Regions from separate parts of the Homo sapiens genome. Here all the other regions are linked to region 1. The links are contacts of gene promoters, found by promoter capture Hi-C in human tissues and cell types (Jung and others, 2019). All regions are on one chromosome and are shown on one strand. The core of a region is centred on a gene start or on the middle of the fragment in contact, and the rest is flanking DNA. Distances in the headings are between cores, read along the strand shown.

Region 1 (3,321 bases), core at 621-3,120:
TGCCTCTGAGCATTTGTCTTCCCCCCACTCGCTTACTGCCACCCCGAAAATGCAGGACAAAGATGAGTTAGAGGGTAGGGGTTCTTCCCAACATTCACAGAACTGGGGCACCAAACAAGAACCCTTTCTCCCTACACTGTCCTTTTTACCCCAGAGAGCTGCCAGCCACAATTCCAAACAAACAACTGAAGGTGAGATCATGAAACCTATCTCTGCTGTGCAGAGGCCCCCTACGCTGAGGCATCCAGAGAAAGAACCTGCTTCCCGCCCCGGAGCCCAGCTTAGCTCACTCCCTCTCTGGGGTTAGATATGAGGGGAGAGGGGGCAAGAAATCCTAATCTTCCCATTCCAACCCTTGGCCTGGGCCACAAATCCTCACTTTGGCCTCTCTGGGCCCTTTTCTGGTCCAAGCGGTGCTGCCCAATGCCCAACCTCACCGCCCACCCAGGAGTTTACAAACAAAGCCAGGGCCAGGGCTGTGTGTGTGTGGGAGGGGAACAGCCCTTCTCCCTGGACTCCAACCCCCTCTAGGTCCTCCCCTCCTTTCTCCAAGGGCAGAAATGGAAAATTAGTAAGGAGGCCAGTGGCCCCACATAAACAGAATGGGGTAGCAAGACAGGAAGGCCTGAGGGCACAGCCCTGCTGGAATGCCTCAGGGAAATGAAAGAAATAGCTGAGTTCAAACACACCTATATACCCACAGGTTCACACACATTTACACAAATATACGCATGGAGAAACACACACAAACACACATTCAAAAACACAAACACCTTCAAGTAACAATGCACACAACATGTTCTCCCGATATTCACAGATCCCGGGCCCTAAGGTCTTTAGCCCCAGCCTAACTGGAAGCCTGGCCTCCCTGCGAGTTCCTGAGAGCAAAGCCCCAGCCGCGGCCTGGCTCCCGCCGGGCCCCCGCCCCGCATCCGGAACAGCTGGAGTCGGCCTGGCCATGCACTCAAGCCGGGCGCTGGGCTAGGCGGGGCCGGCAGCGGGGCCCCGGCCGGGGCCCGGGCGGAGCGCAGCAGGGAGGCACGGAGCCGGCCCCGTTAGCCCCGGCACCTGGCCTGGCTACTCTTCAGACGCCCATCATCAGGCCGTTGGTGGCCCCAGCCAGCCTGGGGAGCGGCTGCCGGAGGAAAGTGAGCAAGATTGCCGGAGGAGGTAGGGCGGCCGCTTCGGAATCAGGCCGGGGAGAGGCGTCCAGAGCCGCCAACAATTCCCTCCTCCGCCTCTCCGCGTGGAGAAGGCTGAGCTCTCCGACTAGCCCCCTCCCCCAACCCCTGGGGTCCTCCACCCCCTTCCCGCGTCGCCCACCCAAGGCTGCGCAGCCGGCTCTGACCTCCTGCGGGCCAGCGCAGGAGGGCTTCAGATTCCCTCTCCCCAGGCGCGTCGCCCAGGCAGTGGGGTGAGGGGCAAGAGGGTCAGAGGTAGAGGCGCTGGGCTCTTGATCTCAGCTCCGCAAAGTCCACTCTGGGTGGCAGCGGGGCCCACCCGGGCTCCTGGTCCTACCTGGCCCGAGCGGCGGCCGCGTCCCTCCCGGGCTGGGGTTCCCACCACTCTTTCGGGCTCCACATCCCGGGTCGGAGAGACCGAGACCTTCGGGCCGGTGCGGTCATTGCAGCTAGGCCGGCGGGAGGCGGGTGCGCCAGGAGCGCGGCTCGCAGTTTGGGGTGGGGGCGGTGGCTTTTCAGTCGCCCGAGGTTCGGGTGCAATAAAGGAGCAGCTAATGTAATTTACAAACAGCTCGGGCCGAACGCAGCGCAGCGCCCGGACTGACAGGCGCATTAGGCAGGCTAATTCCAGCCGGCTCCTCCTACCCCCGGCCCGCTAATTAATGAGCTTCCCAACTTACAGCCGCCTGCATTGGACAGACAGAGAGTGAAAGAGAGGGCGAGGGAGAGGGAGAGAAGGAGAGAGAAGGGGGGAGCAGAGAAGAGAGAAGAGAGAGGGAGGGAGGGAGAGCGAGAACAGGAGGAGAGAACAGAGGCAAAGAAGAGAGGAAAAAGGGAGAAAGGAGAGAGAAAGAGAAAGAAGTGCCGCTGCAGATAATTGATTACACCGCGATCAAGGCTAACTTGTTAGCAATAGTCAATTGCCCCGTCTCTCCGCCTCCCTCGCAGTCCGGGATCGGCGCCCTCGCCTCGGCTCTTCCAACTGCGGCCGCCAGGACCCGGGGCCAGGAGCCACTGCCGAGCCACCTGACACCTTTAAATAGCACCGGGGTTGGCGAAACTGGAGCCCCGCGCAGCGCGCCCCGGCTCCGGCCCCGGATTGCTGGAAGCCCCAGCAGCAGCGGCGCCCGCGTCAGCGCCCTCTTCCCGGGGCCCCGCGCTGTTCTCCCCTCCTCAGCCGCCGCGCTAATCGGCCCCGCGCCCGGCCCGCGCCCTGCCCAGTGCGGCCTCCTTTCCACCCGCCGCTGCCTGCCCGCGCCGTCCGGCGCCCGAGCTGCCCGCGGGCTGGGTCCCCGCGGCCCGAGCCGCCCCGGCCGGGACCCCGAACAAGGCCGAGATGACTTCCAAGGAGGACGGCAAGGCGGCGCCGGGGGAGGAGCGGCGGCGCAGCCCGCTGGACCACCTGCCTCCGCCTGCCAACTCCAACAAGCCACTGACGCCGTTCAGCATCGAGGACATCCTCAACAAGCCGTCTGTGCGGAGAAGTTACTCGCTGTGCGGGGCGGCGCACCTGCTGGCCGCCGCGGACAAGCACGCGCAGGGCGGCTTGCCCCTGGCGGGCCGCGCGCTGCTCTCGCAGACCTCGCCGCTGTGCGCGCTGGAGGAGCTCGCCAGCAAGACGTTTAAGGGGCTGGAGGTCAGCGTTCTGCAGGCAGCCGAAGGTAGGCGCAGCTGCTGGGTTCCCCTGCACCCAGCGCCTCGCGCCCTGTGCCCTGCGCGCTTCGTCCCCTATGCCTCTGCTCGCCTCTGCCCTCTCCGGCCGCCAGGGCCTTCCAGCCTGAGCAGCTGCTTATGGGAGTGAAGATATGTGGGACGGGACCCAATCCTTATTTCCCAGGGACCTCTGGGTAGGCCAGAGCTGGGGGGTGGCAGGAGAAGGGTGGCCAAGCTCTTTCCGCAGTCTGCTTGCTTTGCCGGGCTCCCTTGCGTTCCCAGTGTCCTGGGCGCTCTTAGCCCGGCTACTCGGCGTGGGGAATCGAGAGTCTTTTGCCGGGGACCTTATGGGTAGGGTAGAGTTGAAGTGATTGGGAAGGGATGGAGAACCAACATTCACACCGCAATTAGGGTGTCTCTGTCTGGCTTTCTCATACCCTTAGAGACTTTGGGTCTTTCAAACCAACTCTTAGGTAGGGGGCAGAGA
Region 2 (3,167 bases), core at 457-2,956, 150 kb before region 1:
TGGGAGAAAGAGTGAGACCCTGTCTCAGAAAAAAAAAAAAAAAAAAAAAATCTCCAGGGAAGGCCCAACAAGTCCTCCAGGGAATTCAGACATACTTTTTGTTACAAAAAGCCCTTAAAAACTTAACTCAATTCTCTAAGCAGCTTTAGTAGTGTGTTGCACTAAAGATAAAAGTTATCTTTATCTTTTTTACAATGTAAAAAGTACACTTTAATTGGTCTAAGTTCAAAAATGAAATAAAGAGGATAAAGCCCATGTAATGTCTTTCCAAAATAGGAAACACTCACCATTTCAAAATTGAGAAAGAAAAAAATTATTTAGAACTACCTAAAAATAAATAGGTTGATTTTACAACTACCACAGAAGAATCACCAATGGATGGTAAAACTACTGCGTGAAACAATGTTGTGAAATAAGATATTTACACAGTCTCCAAGTTTGCTCCTCTGAATACTTACAAATATACCTTTACAACAGAGAAATCTAGTGAATACAACCTTAATAAATGATCAAACAATATCTCCAATAATGGAACAAACTGACATTATATGCCTTCTGATGTAGTAGTGCACTAAGAAAAAAAAAACACAGCATATATTATACTCCTGCCAAATTTTTTACCCTGATCTAATCATGGAAAAACAATCAGACAAAAACAAATGAGGGACATTCTGTAAAACTACCTCAAACTCTTCAAAAATGTCAATTTCATGAATAAAAACCATTAGGGAACTACTGTAAATTAAAGGAAACTAAAGAGATATTATATATAACATGATTGGATCCTGGATTTTTTTTTAAAGAGCTGTAAAAGACATTCTTAGGGGCCGGACGCGGTGGCTCATGCCTGTAATCCCAGCACTTTGGGAGGCTGAGGCAGGTGGATCACCTGAGGTCGGGAGTTCGAGACCAGCCTGGCCAGCATGGTGAAACCCCATCTCTACTAAAAATACAAAAATTAACCGGGCGTGGTGGCAGGTGCCTGTAATAACAGCTACTCAGGAAGCTGAGGCAGAAGAATCACTTGAACCTGGGAGGCGAAGGTTGCAGTGAGCTGAGATCACGCCACTGCACTCCAGCCTAGGCAACAGAGCAAGACGCCATCTCAAAAAAAAAAAAAAAAAAAAAAAAAAAAAAAAAAAAAAGACATTCTTAGGATAACTAGGGGTTCTGGATATGAACTGTATATTAAATAATAAAAGGTTATCAGTGATCAGTGTTAAATTTCCTGAGTGGGATCTTGTATTGAGGTTAGGAATAAGGATGCTCTTGTTCTTAGAAAATACATGCAGAAGGTAAAATATCATGTCTGCAACTCTCAAATAATTTAGAAAGAAAGTATATACTAGGAAAAGTCAAATGTGGCAAAATGTTAACAATTAGATAATTCAGGTGAGGGATATATGAGTTATCATCGTGTGTTTCTCATAATTTTTCTGAGGAGTTGAAAAAAGAATGACACCATCAACACCTCTCTTCAAAATTATATTTCTCAAAAATAAGTCAAAAGATAACATCCCTCACCCACCAAAAAACTATAAAATACCTACTCTAAGGTGCATGCTAATTCTACAGTTCACATATAACTTCTATTTATGGTACACTGTGATGTCAAAGTGCTTTTATGTGTACTCTCTTACTGGATCTTCAACCCAGTAGATAGAACAGTTATTGTTATTCTCATTTTAGAGAAGAGGAAATTAAGGAACATGGTTAGTATAGCACAATGATTAACCACACTCACTCTGGAGCTAGAATGTCTGAGCTGGAATACCAGCTGTGCCATTCACAAACTGTTTGATCTGGAAAAAGTAACAACCTGTCTGTGCCTCAGTTTCCACATTTGTAAATCAGGATGATAATAATAATACACACCTAATAAGATGAGAGGATCAAATGAGTTAATATATATAGTGTCTAGAATCCTGCACGGTATATACTGAGCTACAAGTGTTGGCTGCCATTATTATTGTTATTATTATCACCACCCAAGAATAAGGTCAGAGAATAAGTAAAAATACAGTCATGCACCCCCTGACACTTCAGTCAAGTATGGTCAGATATGCAACAGTGGTCTCATAAAATTATAACACTGTATTTTTACCGTACCCTTTCTATGTTTAGATATACAAATACCATTGTGTTACAATGGCTTACAGGATTCAGTGTACAGTAACAAACTGCACAAGCAACAGGTTATATCACATGGCATTTGTGTATAGTAAGGTATACTATCTAGATTTGTCTATGTACACTCTGTGAAGCTCACACAACCACTTAATCACCTAACAATGTATTTCTCATAATGTATCACATATTGTTAAGCAATGCATGACTGTAGTTAAGACAGGACTTGAAACCAGTTCTTCTGACTCCAATTCTTGTGTAATTTCCACTATGCCAATAGTGGTTTCAATCACTTATACTTAGACAAGGAAATGGAAAAATAAGTGTCATTTCAAAAAGGATGTACATGTATGTACTTGACAGAATGCATGAACAAGAGAAGGAAGTTTGCTAATTAAAAGAGGTTCTTAATAGCCGCTGCCCTGTCTGGGAAGTGGGGAGTGCCTCTGCCCAGCCGCCCCACCGTCTGGGAAGTGAGGAGTACCTCTGCCCGGCTGCTGTGCAACCCTCCAAGTGTGAAGGCACAGCCTTGTGTGTGATCTTTCTGCCCTCCCCAAGTTTGCATTTTTGACATTAAAGTTTACTTTTTAATTAAAAAAAAAAAAGAGGTTGTTAAATCTAATTCATCTTTAAGAGACACATGATCTGGATGCTTACAGTCCTTTATAATTTCCAAAATATTTGCTCTATTTATAATAATTTCATTTACTCCTCATAACAGCTCTTTGAGGTACAAAAGTAGATATTATCTTTGCTTTCTATATGAGGAAAGTGAGACTCAAGGAGGTTAAGCAACATGCCCAATATCTATGACATCTAGGAAGCAGAACCTGAAAACCAGGTCTTGTTTTCACTATGGTACAACGTAAAATTTACCTACCAATCTAAACTAATTACAAGGTATTTCAAAGAAGACACACTAACAAAACAGGTAGAATTCTCGTATTGTCAGTTATAAACAAAAGAAGTTATAACTAGTCCATTCAGCAAACAGATGTCACTTTGCAAAGCTTTGATATTTTTCTTAAATACCTTTGAAA
Region 3 (3,103 bases), core at 434-2,933, 190 kb before region 1:
AACTAAGCAGCAACTACGCATTCTCCTGTTTAAATATTTACCTTCTGTTAACTGTTAAATAACTTGCAAATCACCTACTCCTTACATGCAGTCTCAAAAGCTATGACAAAGTTAACAGATAATGACTGCATCCTACACAAATCCAGCCCTGCACAGCACATATTAGTTTCTTCAGCTCAGTTCCCACCTAACGTCACCCCAATTGACTCTCCTTTGCAAAATCAAAGAAAGTTGAAGAGTATAACAATGTATTATAATTGTTGTTATCCAACTGAATGACTTCACTAGCCTTTAAAAAGCATACACAGCACAGAAAAAAATAAGACTGAACATGTTTTCTACTACCTGAATCAGAAAAAAAATTGAAATGCTGCAATGCGATAGTAAAGACACAGAATCAACCCAGGTACCCATCAACGGAAGACTGGATAAAGAAAATGCAGTACACATATACCATGGAATACTAAGTAGCCATAAAAAATAATGAAATCATGTCCTCTGCAGAACATGGATGCAGCTAGAAGCCATTATCCTAAGCGAACTAATGCAGAAACAGAAAACCAAATGCCACATTTTCTCACTTATACATAGGAACAAAACCTTGAGTACACATGGACATAAAGAAGGGAACAGACACTGAGGAATACAAAAGGTGGGAGGACAAAGGGGGTAAAGCTTGAAAAAACTACCTATGGGTACTTTGCACTCTCTACCTGGGTGAGATTCACTCAGACTCCAAACCTCAGCATCGTGCAGTATATCTCTGTAACAAACCTGCACATATACCCCAATTTTAAAATAAAAGTTGAAAAAACAAGATTGCAATGAAGGGCCTCCAGTGCTTCAAGAAGAATATAGTATCTAGTGCCCATCAGGTTCAATGGCACAATTCATTTACACAGAGAACACTGAAAATCTCAACTCTTCCCCCTACACTTGGCTGTCTGGAGTAATGTCACAGATCCTCTTCACTGATAGCCCTGCAGGCAAAGGGCTAGCCTCAGCATTTACTATACGAAAGCTGAATGACAAAATCTCCTAAATTAAGGTCCCTGTTGGTCAACTTCTAGGAGTAACAGAAGCTATAATAATCAACAATAAAAAGATTGCTGTACTGAGAGTTTACGTATCCTTAAGCCATGGAATAGAAGAATTCCCTTTTCACTACTATATCAACTAAGAAATTCAGAGAAATGCAGTATACCATAATCATGTAATACATTCAGACTTTACCTACAAATCCAATGATTGCCTCTTAAGAATCCCAATTTAGTTCACTCCAAAAACAAAACTCCCACCTGTCAGATAGGATAATCATATCTGCCCAGCCTTATTGCACAAGGTTGTGGTAAAACTAAAACAAGGATTCTTTTTTTTTCTTTGAGACAGAGTTTTACTTTTGTTGCCCAGGTTGGAGTGCAATGCCATGATCTCGGCTCACTGCAACCTCCGCCTCCCAGGTTCAAGTGATTTTCCTGACTAAGCCTCCTGAGTAGCTGGGACTGCCGGCATGCACCACCACGCCTGACTAATTTTTGTATTTTTGGTAGAGACAGGCAGGGTTTCTCCATGTTAGCCAGGCTGGTCTCGAACTCCTGAACTCAGGTGATCCACCTGCCTTGGCCTCCCAAAGTGCTGGGATTACAGGCACGAGCCACCTCACCCGGCTAAAATAAGGATTCTAAAAGCTGCAAAGTGCAAAAGAAAAAAATATAAATGGCATCATCACCAGGAATAGGCTTCTGTGAATGCCACTTGCATTTCAAACTGTTCTGGGAAGCCATTTATTTTTTCATTACCAAAGTGGGCACAGGTGGAGTACAAAAAGAGGATAAGTAAAGTTTACCGGGAATAAACTGTCTGCCAGGCATTGTACTAGATCCCTTAAGTACATTATTTCATTTAAGCATTACCTTCTTGTCAAAGAATTATTAGTACTTTTGCCTTAACAAGAGAGTACACTCAAGTTCAGTGAAGTTATAGTGCCTAAATGACAATGGCAGAAATAATACTCAAATGTGTTTGTCTCCACAAATCCACAGACTCAAGTAGTTTACACTCTATTTCAAGGAGATAAACTACTAACAAATAGTAACTACAAGAAAAAATTTAACAATGTACTAAATTGCATTAGACAACAGCTACTATAAGTTTAGGTAAATTTTCAAATATTTAGAAAAGCTCAGTCACAGACTTTAATTTTATTGTAGCACTTGTTACTATATGTATAACAAACTAACAAGCTGCATCTGTATAACATTCTCTGTATAACAAACTAACAAGCTTTGTTAGTTAGCTTTGTCAGTCTAACAATTCATTGTTTGGCAATGAATTGCGGAACAAGCTCTTCCCCAATTCATTCACCTGTATAATAAACTAGTAAGGTAAATAAGACCCAGAGAGGGTCAGGCAAGGTGGCTCATGTGTATAATCCCACCACTTTGGGAGGCCAAGGTGGGAGGACTGCTTGAGACCAGGAGTTCAAGACCAGCCTGGTCAACATAACTAGACCCCATCTCTATTTTTATGAAAAACTGGAAAATAAAAAAAATTTAACTTAATTAAAAAAAACTCATGGATAGGAAGAATCAATATCAATACCAATGACTTTCTTCACAGAATTGGAAAAAACTACTTTAAAGTTCATATGGAACCAAAAAAGAGCCCGCATTGCCAAGTCAATCCTAAGCCAAAAGAACAAAGCTGGAGGCATCATGCTACCTGACTTCAAACTATACTACAAGGCAACAGTAACCAAAACGGCATGGTACTGGTACCAAAACAGAGATATAGACCAATGGAACAGAACAGAGCCCTCAGAAATAATAACACACATCTACAACTATCTGATCTTTGACAAACCTGACAAAAACAAGAAATGGGGAAAGGATTCCCTATTTAATAAATGGTGCTGGGAAAACTGGCTAGCCATATATAGAAAGCTGAAACTGGATCTCTTCCTTACACCTTACACAAAAATTAATTCAAGGTGGAGTAAAGACTTAAATGTTAGACCTAAAACCATAAAAACCCTAGAAGAAAACCTAGGCAATACCATTCAGGACATAGGCATGGGCAAGGACTTCATGTCTAAAACACCAAA

The links. Contacts are between HindIII fragments. The study calls those that stand out against the background at their distance.
Region 2: a contact is called between a fragment that was not itself captured here and the fragment with the promoter of LBX1 in region 1, in 2 of the 25 tissues and cell types used here (hippocampus and liver).
Region 3: a fragment that was not itself captured here is called in contact with the fragment with the promoter of LBX1 in region 1 in 2 of the 25 tissues and cell types used here (hippocampus and lymphoblastoid cells).

Annotation. Positions count from the first base shown.
Region 1 is chr10:101,228,012-101,231,332 of GRCh38, reverse strand. LBX1 (ladybird homeobox 1) reads left to right here and starts at 1,870. Exons shown (of 2, transcript NM_006562.5): 1 at 1,870-2,842. The coding sequence starts at 2,518. It overlaps LBX1-AS1 (LBX1 antisense RNA 1), which reads right to left and starts at 1,739. Exons shown (of 3, transcript NR_029380.1): 1 at 1,519-1,739. The HindIII fragment of the contact is 30,882 bases long and covers 1-3,321 here.
Region 2 is chr10:101,379,941-101,383,107 of GRCh38, reverse strand. The region is part of intron 1 of BTRC (beta-transducin repeat containing E3 ubiquitin protein ligase); the gene reads right to left. Among named protein-coding and RNA genes, the nearest start is that of BTRC, 27 kb to the right of the region's middle. The HindIII fragment of the contact is 7,585 bases long and covers 1-3,167 here.
Region 3 is chr10:101,422,514-101,425,616 of GRCh38, reverse strand. All of the region lies in intron 1 of BTRC (beta-transducin repeat containing E3 ubiquitin protein ligase), which reads right to left. Among named protein-coding and RNA genes, the nearest start is that of BTRC, 70 kb to the right of the region's middle. The HindIII fragment of the contact is 5,073 bases long and covers 1-3,103 here.